Regions from separate parts of the Homo sapiens genome. Here region 1 is linked to region 2. The links are contacts of gene promoters, found by promoter capture Hi-C in blood cells and fetal thymus (Javierre and others, 2016). All regions are on one chromosome and are shown on one strand. The core of a region is centred on a gene start or on the middle of the fragment in contact, and the rest is flanking DNA. Distances in the headings are between cores, read along the strand shown. Region 1 holds the start of KCNE4 (potassium voltage-gated channel subfamily E regulatory subunit 4). Region 2 holds the start of SCG2 (secretogranin II).

Region 1 (6,062 bases), core at 1,878-4,377, 550 kb after region 2:
TCTCCCTCCAGCGCTAGACTCTGCCTCTAGTCCCATGACCGATGATATGTCCTGTGATTTTCTTCAGCACAGTACACAGACTTTAAGGAAAGGGCATGAGGCAAAAGTATGCTCTGCCTGAAGCTGGAGTTTAAGTTACATTTTAAGCTCAATGTTCTGTTTGTTCCACAATGTCTACGGTCAGAGCAGCATTTTACAGGATGATAAATTACCCTCGTTTAGCTGAATCCTAGAAGTGCATGTCTGACCATGAAACCCTCCAGTTGCAGCTCTGAAAGGCACCAGGGGGTCCACTTTCCAACCAGAATCATGAGCCAAGAGCATTCATTCCTTGGCCTGACTTCAGCCTTTCCCAGTAGATTTGATCCCATGATTCTACCAGTGAAAGAAATCTTCTACTGTGTAACATCCCTGCCTGACTCTGACGTACAAAGGTGTAATTAGAACAGTGTGGAGCAGGCAGGATGATCCATTTACCTCATCCCTAACATTTAAGTGCTTTCAAAATATGTTTTTAATATCTTAGGTGCACAGGGCCAAATTATCCTCTCAGTTTTTCACATGCATGAGTAAATCCACACAGACTAAACCCCTTGGGCCTTAGGTTCTGCTTAGAAATTCTTTTTTTTTTTTAAAGAAAACAAATATCCCATTAAAACGACAAAGTGTACTCTGCATATTTTTAGGACAATTAGAGTTTAGAATTCCCTCTCCTTCCACCCATGGCTTAAAAAAATAGAAAAATTCTTAACCATTTCCTTACGAAGAACGACATTAAACTGGGACAAATGGAAAGGCTCTCTTGCCTTTTACAGCAATCTTCTCATCTTACATCATCAAAGTACCAACTGATGGATCAGGGCCCTCGATATTGTTTGGGAAGGATCCAGGCTCCACTGTACTGTTGCCAGGTAAATTTTTTAGGTAGACAGTTACTAGTGAACTGAAGGGAAACACTTACTTGAAACAGAAAAGCCAATCTCACAGGAAACAGAGAAACATAAAAGTAAGGATGCTTCCTACCATTTGCTTGATTCAAAAACAGGTCATGCAAATAAAATTATGAAGAAGAGGCTGCCGCAGGCTGGCCACGGCCTCAGCCTGTGGGCAAGAGATACAGACAGACCAAGTGGGAGGGGCTGGAATCAGTCCCAGTCTGAAGGAGACCAGGAGAGGGAGGAGAGTCAACCCCAGCCCCACACGTCGTGCTTCACTGTGTTGGTAAGTTTGTGTTGCTGTTCATACAGCAGCTCTTTGCCCATTAGCAGGTGCTGCTGGGCCACATGTGTGGATAATATTTGCCAAGCCAACATACAGGTCAAACGTTTTCTTGCAACCAAGCTTGGAGCAACATCTTAGCAGCAGTTGACCTGTCACTGCATGTTCAAAGTCCAAAGACTCCAGGGCTGCCATATTTAAACAGAGAAGTCCATGTAAGACCATCTGCAGCTTGTTTTCCATTCATTACAAAGCATTTCAAAGGATGAAAAGCCAAGCCTCATTCACCCCATGGTTCAGACAGAAATAAGATACGCCCTCAGGAGATACTGACTTGGGAGAGGAGCAAAATCCAGAGATGTCTTGGGAAACGTATCTGTGATGTCTTCGAAACTAACAATTATATTGAAAAATCAAACAAAGAATTCATGACTTCCCAGGAGGGAAAAAATGTGTTTATTTATTTAAATTAAAAAATATTGTGAAAATTACAAAGTGTTAAATACAAAAGACAATTCTATACAACTCAACAGAATAAGAAGGAAGTATATACATCACTTTTTAATAGGTGCAGAGAGACTTGCACCAAACTTCAGGATTAAGCAATGGAAAATGTGACAAGGCACATGTCCGTCGCAGTGAAATTTCAGAATTCAAGTGATTCCAGGCAAGAGGCCAAACTTAACTTGGCTTCTTTCAACTTAAACAGCCCCCTTTGGCATAAGTCCACACTGAATTTTAAAGTGAACAGAGGGCCTTTTTCCCCCAAACATAAATTTCCTTTAGCTGTATGTCAAAGCGGACTGATAAACCAGCTCCTACACTGTTAACCCTTCCATGGCAACAGTAGTTATTGCTGTGTCTCCAATCCATGCAGAGCATTTTTCTTTAAAAAAAAAAAAAGTGGCCGGGTGCAGTGGCTCATGCCTGTAATCCCAGCACTTTGGGAGGCCGAGGTGGGAGGATCATTTAAGGCCAGGAGTTTGAGACCAGCCTGGCCAAAATGGCGAAACCCCATCTCTACTAAAAATCAAAAAATTAGCTGGGCGTGGTGGCAGGCGCCTGTAATCCCAGCTACTCAGGAGGCTGAGGCAGGAGAATCGCTGAAACCCAGGAGGTGGAGGTTGCAGTGAGCCAAGATTGCACCACTGCACTCCAGCCTGGGCAACAGAGCGAGATTCTGTCTTAAAAATAAAAAATAATAATAAATAAATAATTTTTTTAAAAGTTTTTTTAAATAGATTTAAATTTGACCTTTTACTTCCTCCTTGTCTTTAAGGGCCTAACGGATCTGCGAAACTGTTGACCACAGGAATACTTGGAGACATTGGAAGCATTCCTGTGTGTTTTCCTTTAGACTTTGCTTTCCCTTAGCTGGGAGTGTTAACATCACACATTCTCCAGAGAACTTTGCAGAGGAGAATGTGGTGTCTGCCTCTTTCCTTCAGTCCTGGGAAAACTACAGCAGGGCTGGGTTGGTAGCTTGCCCTGAATTCCCCAGTTATATGTGTTCTGAATCTCCAACTGCTCCTTTAAATCAGCAGATCCTTGTTCAGACTAACCGGCCAAAGGGGAAGCATTTGGTCCAAGCTTCCTCACACCAGGCTGTGGAATATTTATCACAGAGTCCTAAAATCTAAAGACATCCTCCCAACCCCCTGGGGATGGAGATCGTCGGGAGCCTCATGCAGACAGCGAGCTTCTTGATGACATGCCCGGGACCACACAGCAAATGAGTGTCAGGGCTCGGGATCAGGAAGCACAGAACTTGGAGCCCAGCTTTGTGCAATCTCCGCCTGAGTATGCCCTTCTAGGTCTCAGCTACGTGACGAAATACCACATTATGTCCTCTCCCAGCTCAGAAAACTAGGCTGGGAAACTGAGCAGCAGCAGAGCTAACGGCTTGGCCTTGTTCAACCCCACTTTACCCCTTCTAGAAAGATCAGGAAGAGTCTCCTGAACCACCATCGGGAGTGCAGGTTAGATTCTGGGGAAGCTCTTCTGATCCAAAGAACGTCATGCCATCATGTGATGCTGCATGGTCACAGGTCAGAGTTCAAGGTCATAAGTTAGACAAAAGGTCAAAATAGAAGATCATCTCTTATAACCCCGGCCAATGTTAACAGGTTTAAAAGTTACTTTTTTTTCTTATAGTGTGCAAATGGGCTGGGTTCAGATCTCCAGCTTTCTCCCATCAAAAATCCCCCTCTAATCCAAAAGAAGCTTGTAACCCACTGTGAAGGAATGCCACAGGTACACAGTAGAGATACTTACAGCCAATCAGATCTAGAAGGACAAAGCTCTAGGCAAAATAGCAAATCACAACTAGTCTCTCAGCGTGTCCTAAGCATTCGGCAGCCCTGGGAACAGGCAGACCCTGCAGGAGCTACCCAGGGCATCCAGTGAGAAAATGGCAAACATATCATCCCGCCAAATTCTGATCAGAACCCCAACACCCAGGCCCCAAAGTCAGTGTACGCGCTGCGCATCTCCGCGGCTTTTTCAGTGGTGGGTGCAAACCACAGGCACCTCCCGGACTCCTTGGAGGTGCTGGTTCCGGCTGAGCCTAGTCCCCCACCCCACCCCGAATCAGGGGTTTACCAAGGGTCTCTTCAAAGTGGCAGCCGCACTGTGAAAGTGAAACCAGACACTTGAAAACTGTCTTTCCTCTCTCTAAGGTTGCTGGCTGATGGAGCCACCGGCAGGGGTCCCGGGGGTGCTAGGAATTCTGATGGATGTTCTCCGAGGACCCTTCGCTGCTCTCGTTGAGGGGCGTCTCCGAGGTCTCCTCCAGCTCATCGTCTGCCCCCTCCTCCTGAATGGTGAGGTGCACGTCCGGGGAGGAGGACTCGGAGCTCACGCTGTCCCCTTCCATGGAACAGAGGGTGCAGGACAGCGCGGGCGCCACGCTCTCCTGCAGCATGTTCAGCATCAGGGGCACCTGCACCGACCTCAGGCCCGACACCACAGGCAGCGGCTTCATGGCCTCCCCCCAGAGCCGCTCCTCGTCTTTGTACAGCAGCAGGAGGCTGGACTTCTTCTCCCGCCTCTTGGATTTCATGTAGCCCAGCATGATTCCGATCAAGAAAATGCCGTAGAAGGACATGACAACCAGAATGTAGAAGTACTCGTTGCCATTGCCGCTGCCGCCGCCGGCCGCACGGGACTCCAGGGGGCTGCTGGAGGCGGCGGTGCCGGGGTGCGTGCTGTTCAGAGGCTCCATTTTCAGCATTGAGGCTGCCTCCACAGCAGGGGCTGGGGAAAAAGCCGCAGGTTAGAACTCTCCCCCAGGTCCTGGGCACAGGGAGGTGGGGGAGCACGAGGTTTGTGGAACTGCAATACCAAAAAAGCTTAAAAGTGCATGAAAGAAATAGCATAAGAGGGTTCGCCAAACAGCTGACAAGAGTGAGCTATGAGGGCTTGGAGTGCACGGGAGAGAAGCCCGGGAAGGTTCACTGGGAAAAGTAAGAAGGACTTTTTTTTTTTTTTTTAGTGTACACATTTGTCCTGTTTGTAGTGAGCAGTATTACTTTGATTAAAAAAAAAATCAATGTAAGACAGGAGCATACAGTAAATAGTATCTTTAAAACTGGGAAACGTATTTTAACTGAGCAGAAACAAAGTTTACATTGTGTTTCCAAAACCAAACTATTTTAAATTCAAAACAATGTTTCCTTAGAACAAAGAAAAGCAGGAAGAAAATAAAGGAAAAAAATTCATCTATTAATTGGCAAAAATGTCCCTCTTTCAAATGTTTCTGAAAGCAAAGTGTAGCCTTGCTGACTTACCAAGGCTGACAGTTTGTCCCAAGTTTTGAATTCCCAAATCGTCCAGTCCAAGAGGGTTCTTCTGCTCTGTCCGGCTCTGCGCTCTGACAACTCCGCTGCTGCAGTTGGGATATATAGTCAAGAAGTGCATCGTCACGTGCTCTGGGAGGAAAATTTACAACAGAGATTGATCGTGGCAGAGTGAGCAGTGAACTGAAAGCACTGCAGTTCAACTCCCTGAACTTTGCAGCTGTGAAAAGTGAAAAAGACTGGGAAGTGGGAACTGCTCCTCAAGCCCCAGCACCCGGCCAGGGTTTTCAGGTAGCGGTGACGATGAGTGAAAAGAGGAGAAAGGGATGTGCTGTGCTGGAACCGTTACCCCAAAGTCCGCGCTCACTGAAAATTAGCTCATGCTTCGCGCGGCTCCTGGGGAATAACCATTATTGGGCTACAGGTTTTCAGAGGCAGCTGAATCCCATAATCTGGATGAAAGACAGTTGGAAGCAAGTGCGGGATTTACAGTCAAGGAACTGGGGCTTCGGTTTCAGTTCTTCCACTCCTTATGCAAATAAGATAAATCCTTCCTTAACCTCTCCGCACCTCACATTCCTCGTCTGTAAAATCGTTGTGCCTGGCGGGGGGGGGGGTCTTCTGCAGGTAGGATTATATAAACCACGTGACCTTTTGAGACCCTTTCAGCTTAACCCTTCTAAGATTGAAGGCTGCCTGGTGTTGCTTAGCCCTCTAAAAGCAGAGATTCTAGCTGCCTTCCACATCAAGGTCACAAACCTATGTTTATAATAATTTTTTTTTAAAAGCTCCCACATTCTTTTCAGTGGTCTGCATTAAGTGGAAACATGTTGTCGTAAAAGATACTATGGGCAGGTTTTGTTCCGTCCTGCCATACACAGCTGCTCCTCTGAAGCCTCATGCGGAGGCTATTGACACGTCTCTTTGCTGTCTCTCGTAGGTCAGGGGAGGAGCAGGACTATTTCAGAGTGCAACTAAGCACAGTTCAAGTTTTTTAAACCTCGGTAGACCCTGTGTTTAAATGGCTGCTGTGATCAAAATTGGAAG
Region 2 (5,391 bases), core at 2,429-4,928:
ACAAAGATTTATAGGTTATTTTAATGTTTTATACATGCTCTAAAATATTTTATGTCAACAAACTATTGATATATATATATGTGTGTGTACATATACGTGTGTGTATATATATATATATATATATATCATTTTAAATTCTTCTCCAAATACATTTCTATTTGAGAAATAGCTCCCTTTAGAACAAATAACTACTGGCAAAAAATTAGTGACTTTTGGAAATATGTTAAATATAACACATTGAAAAATCTATAAAAACAAAAAAAATTGATGTTGGCAATGTTATGGAGAAAAAGGAATGCTTATACACTGTTGGTGGGAGTGTAAATTAGTTCAGCCATTGTGGAAGACAGTGTGGTGATTCCTCAAAGATGTAAACTACCATTCAACCCAGCAATTCCATTATTGGTTATATACCCAAAGGAATACAAATTGTTCTATTATAAAGACACATGCATGTGTATGTTCATTGCAGCACTATTCACAATAGCAAAGATGTGGAATCAACCTAAATGCCCATCAATTACAGACTGGATAAAGAAAATGTGGCACATATACATCATAGAATACTATGCAGCCAAAAAAAGAATGAGATCATGTCCTTTGCAGGGACATGGATAGAGGCGGAGGCCATTATCTTTAAAAAACTAATGCAGGAAGAGAAAACAAAATACCATATGTTCTCACTTGTAAGTGGGAGCTAAATGATGAGAATACATGAACACAAAGAGGGGAACGACACAGCCTATCAGAGTGTGGATGGTGGGAGGAGGGAGAGGATCAGGAAAAATAACTAATGGGTAGTAGGCTTAATACCTGGGTGATGAAATAATCTGTACAACAAACTTCCATGACAGAAGTTTACCTATGTAACAAACCTGCACATGTACCCCTGAACTTGAAAGTTAAAAAATATGTTTGGGGAGTTTGATTTTGAAAAAACAGGCTGGTGAATAGAATTTTCCTAATTCAGCAACTGTTCTCTTATTTGGAAGATGTATGCCCCATAGCATCAAGGCTGTGATCTAATGTTTATTCTTGCTTTCCATTGGTGCTGCCCCAAATAGAAGTCCCGGCCTATGCCTTTGCTTTTCTTAGACCAGGAAAAGCAACTGGACAACTGGGGGTTTTTGTCAAAGAAACTAAATTCTGGACTTGGGTCTTTAATGATTAAATCCATCCCATATTTATTTCTGTATTTCCATCTCTAGCAGTGTCTGAATCATAGTTTTTATTGTAGAAATATCATAGAATGGACTTAAATACAAATTCTAGCTCTACCAATTATAAGTCAAAATAGTGGGCAACTTACTTATTTCTGAGCTTTAGTTTCTTCATCTGTAAAATGGAGATAAAAATACCTACTTGTTATAGTTGTCCGGAGGATTAAATTAGGTTCCAAGTACAGTGCTTGGATCATAACAGAACTCAGTAAGTGAGAGGTATTTATCATAGTCTCATAAGATAGGCAGAAATTCAATAGCCCACAATGGCTTATTGTTCTACCCACATCTTGAGCCTAGTGGAGCCAATCCATCCCAGCAACAGCCTCCTGGCATCTCACATCTACTTGGAGATTTTGAATGAGGTTTTGCATGTCTTTTGGATGATTGAAGATATTTCCAGGCAAGATGTTGACTCTGGGGCTTTAGAAGAACCGTAGCTTCTGGTTCTTGCCAAAAAGTTTAGTTCCACATAAATGAATTAGCCTAGTCAGGATGACTTTCTGGAGGGCTTTTGAGACCTATGCTGAACAAACTCAACATTTTAAGAATAATTGCAGAGTTTTCTAAAGCTGCGTTGATACTGGTTAGTTGAACTGGTCACACAGAACTGCTGGACAGAAAATTAGGTCAAACTTGGAGCAGCTAGCCAGGGCTTTGTTAAGATTTAAGGCAATCTTAGCTAAGGATGTCAGTGAATGAGCTGGTGTCATTGAGATGATGCTTGAGAAATGGGTCATATTTAGGTCTCTTCAACCCAGCATTTGATCATGCCCTAAAAAACCACTATGAGGCAAAATTTGTTGGATGAATTGGACATATAACCCCAGTCTGAGTGTATATGAATTCATATCAATCCACAAATGATGATCTCCTAGTCGTTTAGGAAAACCAAATAGGGAGAATCGAGGCACATTTTTCCAAGATTTTTTCTGTAAGACTTTAAGCCATTTCCTATTTTTTCGAGGAATTCAAAAGTACTAACATAGTTAGAAATCCTTGTAAGAAAACCTGATAGTGAGAAATCTCAGCTTAGGCCTTTTATTCCAGGACATTGTTTCCCCCTGAATTTCTAGGTTGAACCCATTGGCTATCCAAATGGTCCAAACACTGCTAGCTAACCTCTCTATTGATGCTTTCCAATTTATATGAAAATTATGTGTTTATTTGCATGTCATCCCCATTAGCTGAAAGGCTCATCAAAGGCAAAAAAATCACTTATTTTTGTATTAGTTAACAATTGTGCATTTAGCAATGTATCTGGCACCTAGTAGGTATTACAATTTATTGAGTCAGTGGCTGATTGTTCATTTAGCAGAAACACATGGGATCTCTTATATGGCAAGATTCTGTTGCATTCTTAAAGTATATGTCAACATATACAGTTTTTAGAAACTCATATCTTTAATAAAATAAAGTTTAAAATTTATATCCATATAAATTATTGAAATATATAATCAGGTTATCTGGTAAGGCAGAGGAATGATTATGAATTATAAATCTGAGAGGTTGAAAGTTAATTGCTGTATTATTCCCTGGATTGTTCACATTCATGGAAGGTATTCAACTCATCTGATTCAACAGGAGAAGGGAAATATTTATAGTACAACTTCCTTTCGATTGCAAATGAATTCTAGTTACGTATGTGTCACATTTTTCCCAAACAGTGAAAAGACTTTTTTTTTAAGTAGATGAAAGTATTTTCATCAGCACTCAACTTCTGAGCTTCCCTTTCTGAGATCAGATATTGTGAAAGACAGTAACAGAGATATAAAGAATTATTAGCTACTAAGCTTGAAGTCTGATAAATACCCATTTAAAAAACTATATAAGCTATTAAAGTTGGCTCTCATATAAAAGAGAGAGAACTCTCTGTTTTATTCAAATAAATATGATTTTAAAAGAATGATGGCTGTGGTCATGATAAGAAATATGGCCTTTCATATTTATAATGTGTCCTCCATTCATCTTGGTTATAACAGGAAATGGTAATGTAATTTCTTTGTGGGCAAAGATGAAAAAATAATCCTTGTCTGTAAAACTTTCTTACAACGACGACAACAATTACAACAGTGACACCAAGAAACTATTATAACAAGTTGCTAGAACATAGATGAGATTGTCTTGCAATTAGCCATGTCTGTCTGACACACATTTCTTTCTTTGTAAGAGAAATCGTGCAGAGCAGTTTATTCCGTCTCAAAGATTTTGATAAAAGAAAAAGGAAAACTGCAATTTTTGCCACAAAAAGACAGGTGGCGTAAGCATGCAACTTTTTTTTCTTTTCTTTTCTTTCTTTCTTTTTTTTTTTTTTTAAATATAAAGTGATTATTTTCTCTTGGTTCTTTGAAAAACCTCGCTTGTGCTGGGGTTTGTGGCTGAACCCGGTGACGTCAGTGTGGCAGTGCGGAGTCAGGCGCAGCGGCTCCCTATAAGCAGAGGAGCTGTCCGTGTGCTGAAACGGCCCGAGAAGCTCGCCCGGAGAACGGGGAGGAATATGCTGTGGAGCTCCTCTGCCATATAAACAAAAAGAGGTAAGGCTGCTTTTCTCTTTGATTTATTGGAAAGTTCCAAATTGCATGCTCTTCTTTTAATTCCTAGCTGAGAAGAAAAAGACTGTTTGGCAAGCTTATGTCGATAGGATAACTGAATAGCAACCTGCTGCTCATCAGCCAATGTAAGGACACTACATATGTGTATATACATGATCGGGTCTATGCTTTATACTACTTGATGTTGGATATTTACTAACCAGAATGTTACTTAGATAATCATATAAAAAAGAGTGAAAAAGTTAAGGATTTTAGTGTCAATACACAGATTAATGTAAAGTTAACCAAGCCCAATATCTTGTTTCTTTCCAAAATTTATTATTTCTGCCACTAAGAGCCAGATACGAAGCCAGGGGTATAATTTATATGTTTAATATTCTTAACAGTAGGTTTCCAATGATACAAAGGCTGTCAAGCATGTTAGTCATAAAGGCAACCCATTTTGGAACTAGGTTTTTTTTCTTTGATATTTATCTTACAAGAGCTCTGAATTAACTAACCACATAAAATTCTTTTCTGAACTTGTATATTTGAAAGAGCTTACATTATTATCTCCTAATTTTAGTTCTAAGATGTTAACTTAGGATTTTCCTGAACACTGGATTCTTCCTTTTTCCAGGGCAAAATATTATCTTGGGTTGTAATTTGGCTGTGACCATGAATTACAGAGAAATGATCATTTTGAATACATGATGAAAATACTCATAACTTTGTAAATTGTTATTGTTATTGCTATAATTTGATTTAAAGAGGATGTTCAATATGTTGCTAAAGATTTTGTCTGGGACAAGTATTTCATTTTTTCTGTATCCCAACTAGTTGAATTGCTTAAATTACATATAGTCACCTGCATGTGTCAATGCTCTAGCCTGAATTCAACAGAAAAGACATTTTAACTTGAGAGATTTTAATGATAGCTATCAGGGGAAAAATAATGTTCTAATTATTTGGATTTCAGAAAATTCAATTTTAAATCAAACCCCATATAGAATAGTAGAGCTGTTGAAACATCTTTACTACTTGAAAGAGCTGCTACCTGGGAAAAGAATCCTTTGGGTCTCACTCAAAGGCAATAACTATGTCATTCAAACTGAAGCTGAATAGTTAAGCAAAGGGTAGCACTTCTTAGGCTGTGGTTTAAACAACTGCAATGAGTAGTCTGCTTCAACTTTACAGCAAAGTGCAGTTCCAAGATAATGATTTTAAAGATGAGCATATAATCCACATGTTAAGACTATTTCAGTATTGTGGCTTCAAAAAAAATAAGTTCAGTAAGGTTTTTAAGATTATTATTTCAAATGCCAATGTTGAAAGTTGATTACCAAAGCTACATTAATCCTGAAATAATATAAACAAGAGTGCATAATGTATTTTTATTTGAACCTCATTATTTTATGAATAAAATTACTTATAGTAAACATGTATTTATAATAAATATTTTGGAAGTATCCTCTCAAATGCCTTTCAAGATGTTTCTTTCAATAAATTAAGTACTCTGGTAAACGTGAATCATTTAAATAGGTATATACGTATGCTAAAATGTTTTCATAACTAAGCCATTATTGGGCTCTAAAAAACTGGAAACAAAATCATCAATATGATCTTGTGAACAATGGTAT

Evidence for each region. The method cuts DNA at HindIII sites, captures the fragments that hold promoters and counts their contacts. A CHiCAGO score of 5 or more calls a contact.
Region 1: a contact is called between a fragment that was not itself captured here and the fragment with the promoter of SCG2 in region 2, in 1 of 17 cell types (M1 macrophages). The highest score is 5.0, in M1 macrophages.

The regions. Positions count from the first base shown.
Region 1 is chr2:223,051,219-223,057,280 of GRCh38, reverse strand. It overlaps KCNE4 (potassium voltage-gated channel subfamily E regulatory subunit 4), which reads right to left and starts at 5,091. Exons shown (of 2, transcript NM_080671.4): 1 at 5,007-5,091; 2 at 1,644-4,473. The coding sequence starts at 4,450. The coding sequence ends at 3,938. RefSeq lists an enhancer at 4,236-4,783. The HindIII fragment of the contact is 633 bases long and covers 2,811-3,443 here.
Region 2 is chr2:223,600,648-223,606,038 of GRCh38, reverse strand. It overlaps SCG2 (secretogranin II), which reads left to right and starts at 3,678. Exons shown (of 2, transcript NM_003469.5): 1 at 3,678-3,754. The HindIII fragment of the contact is 835 bases long and covers 3,016-3,850 here.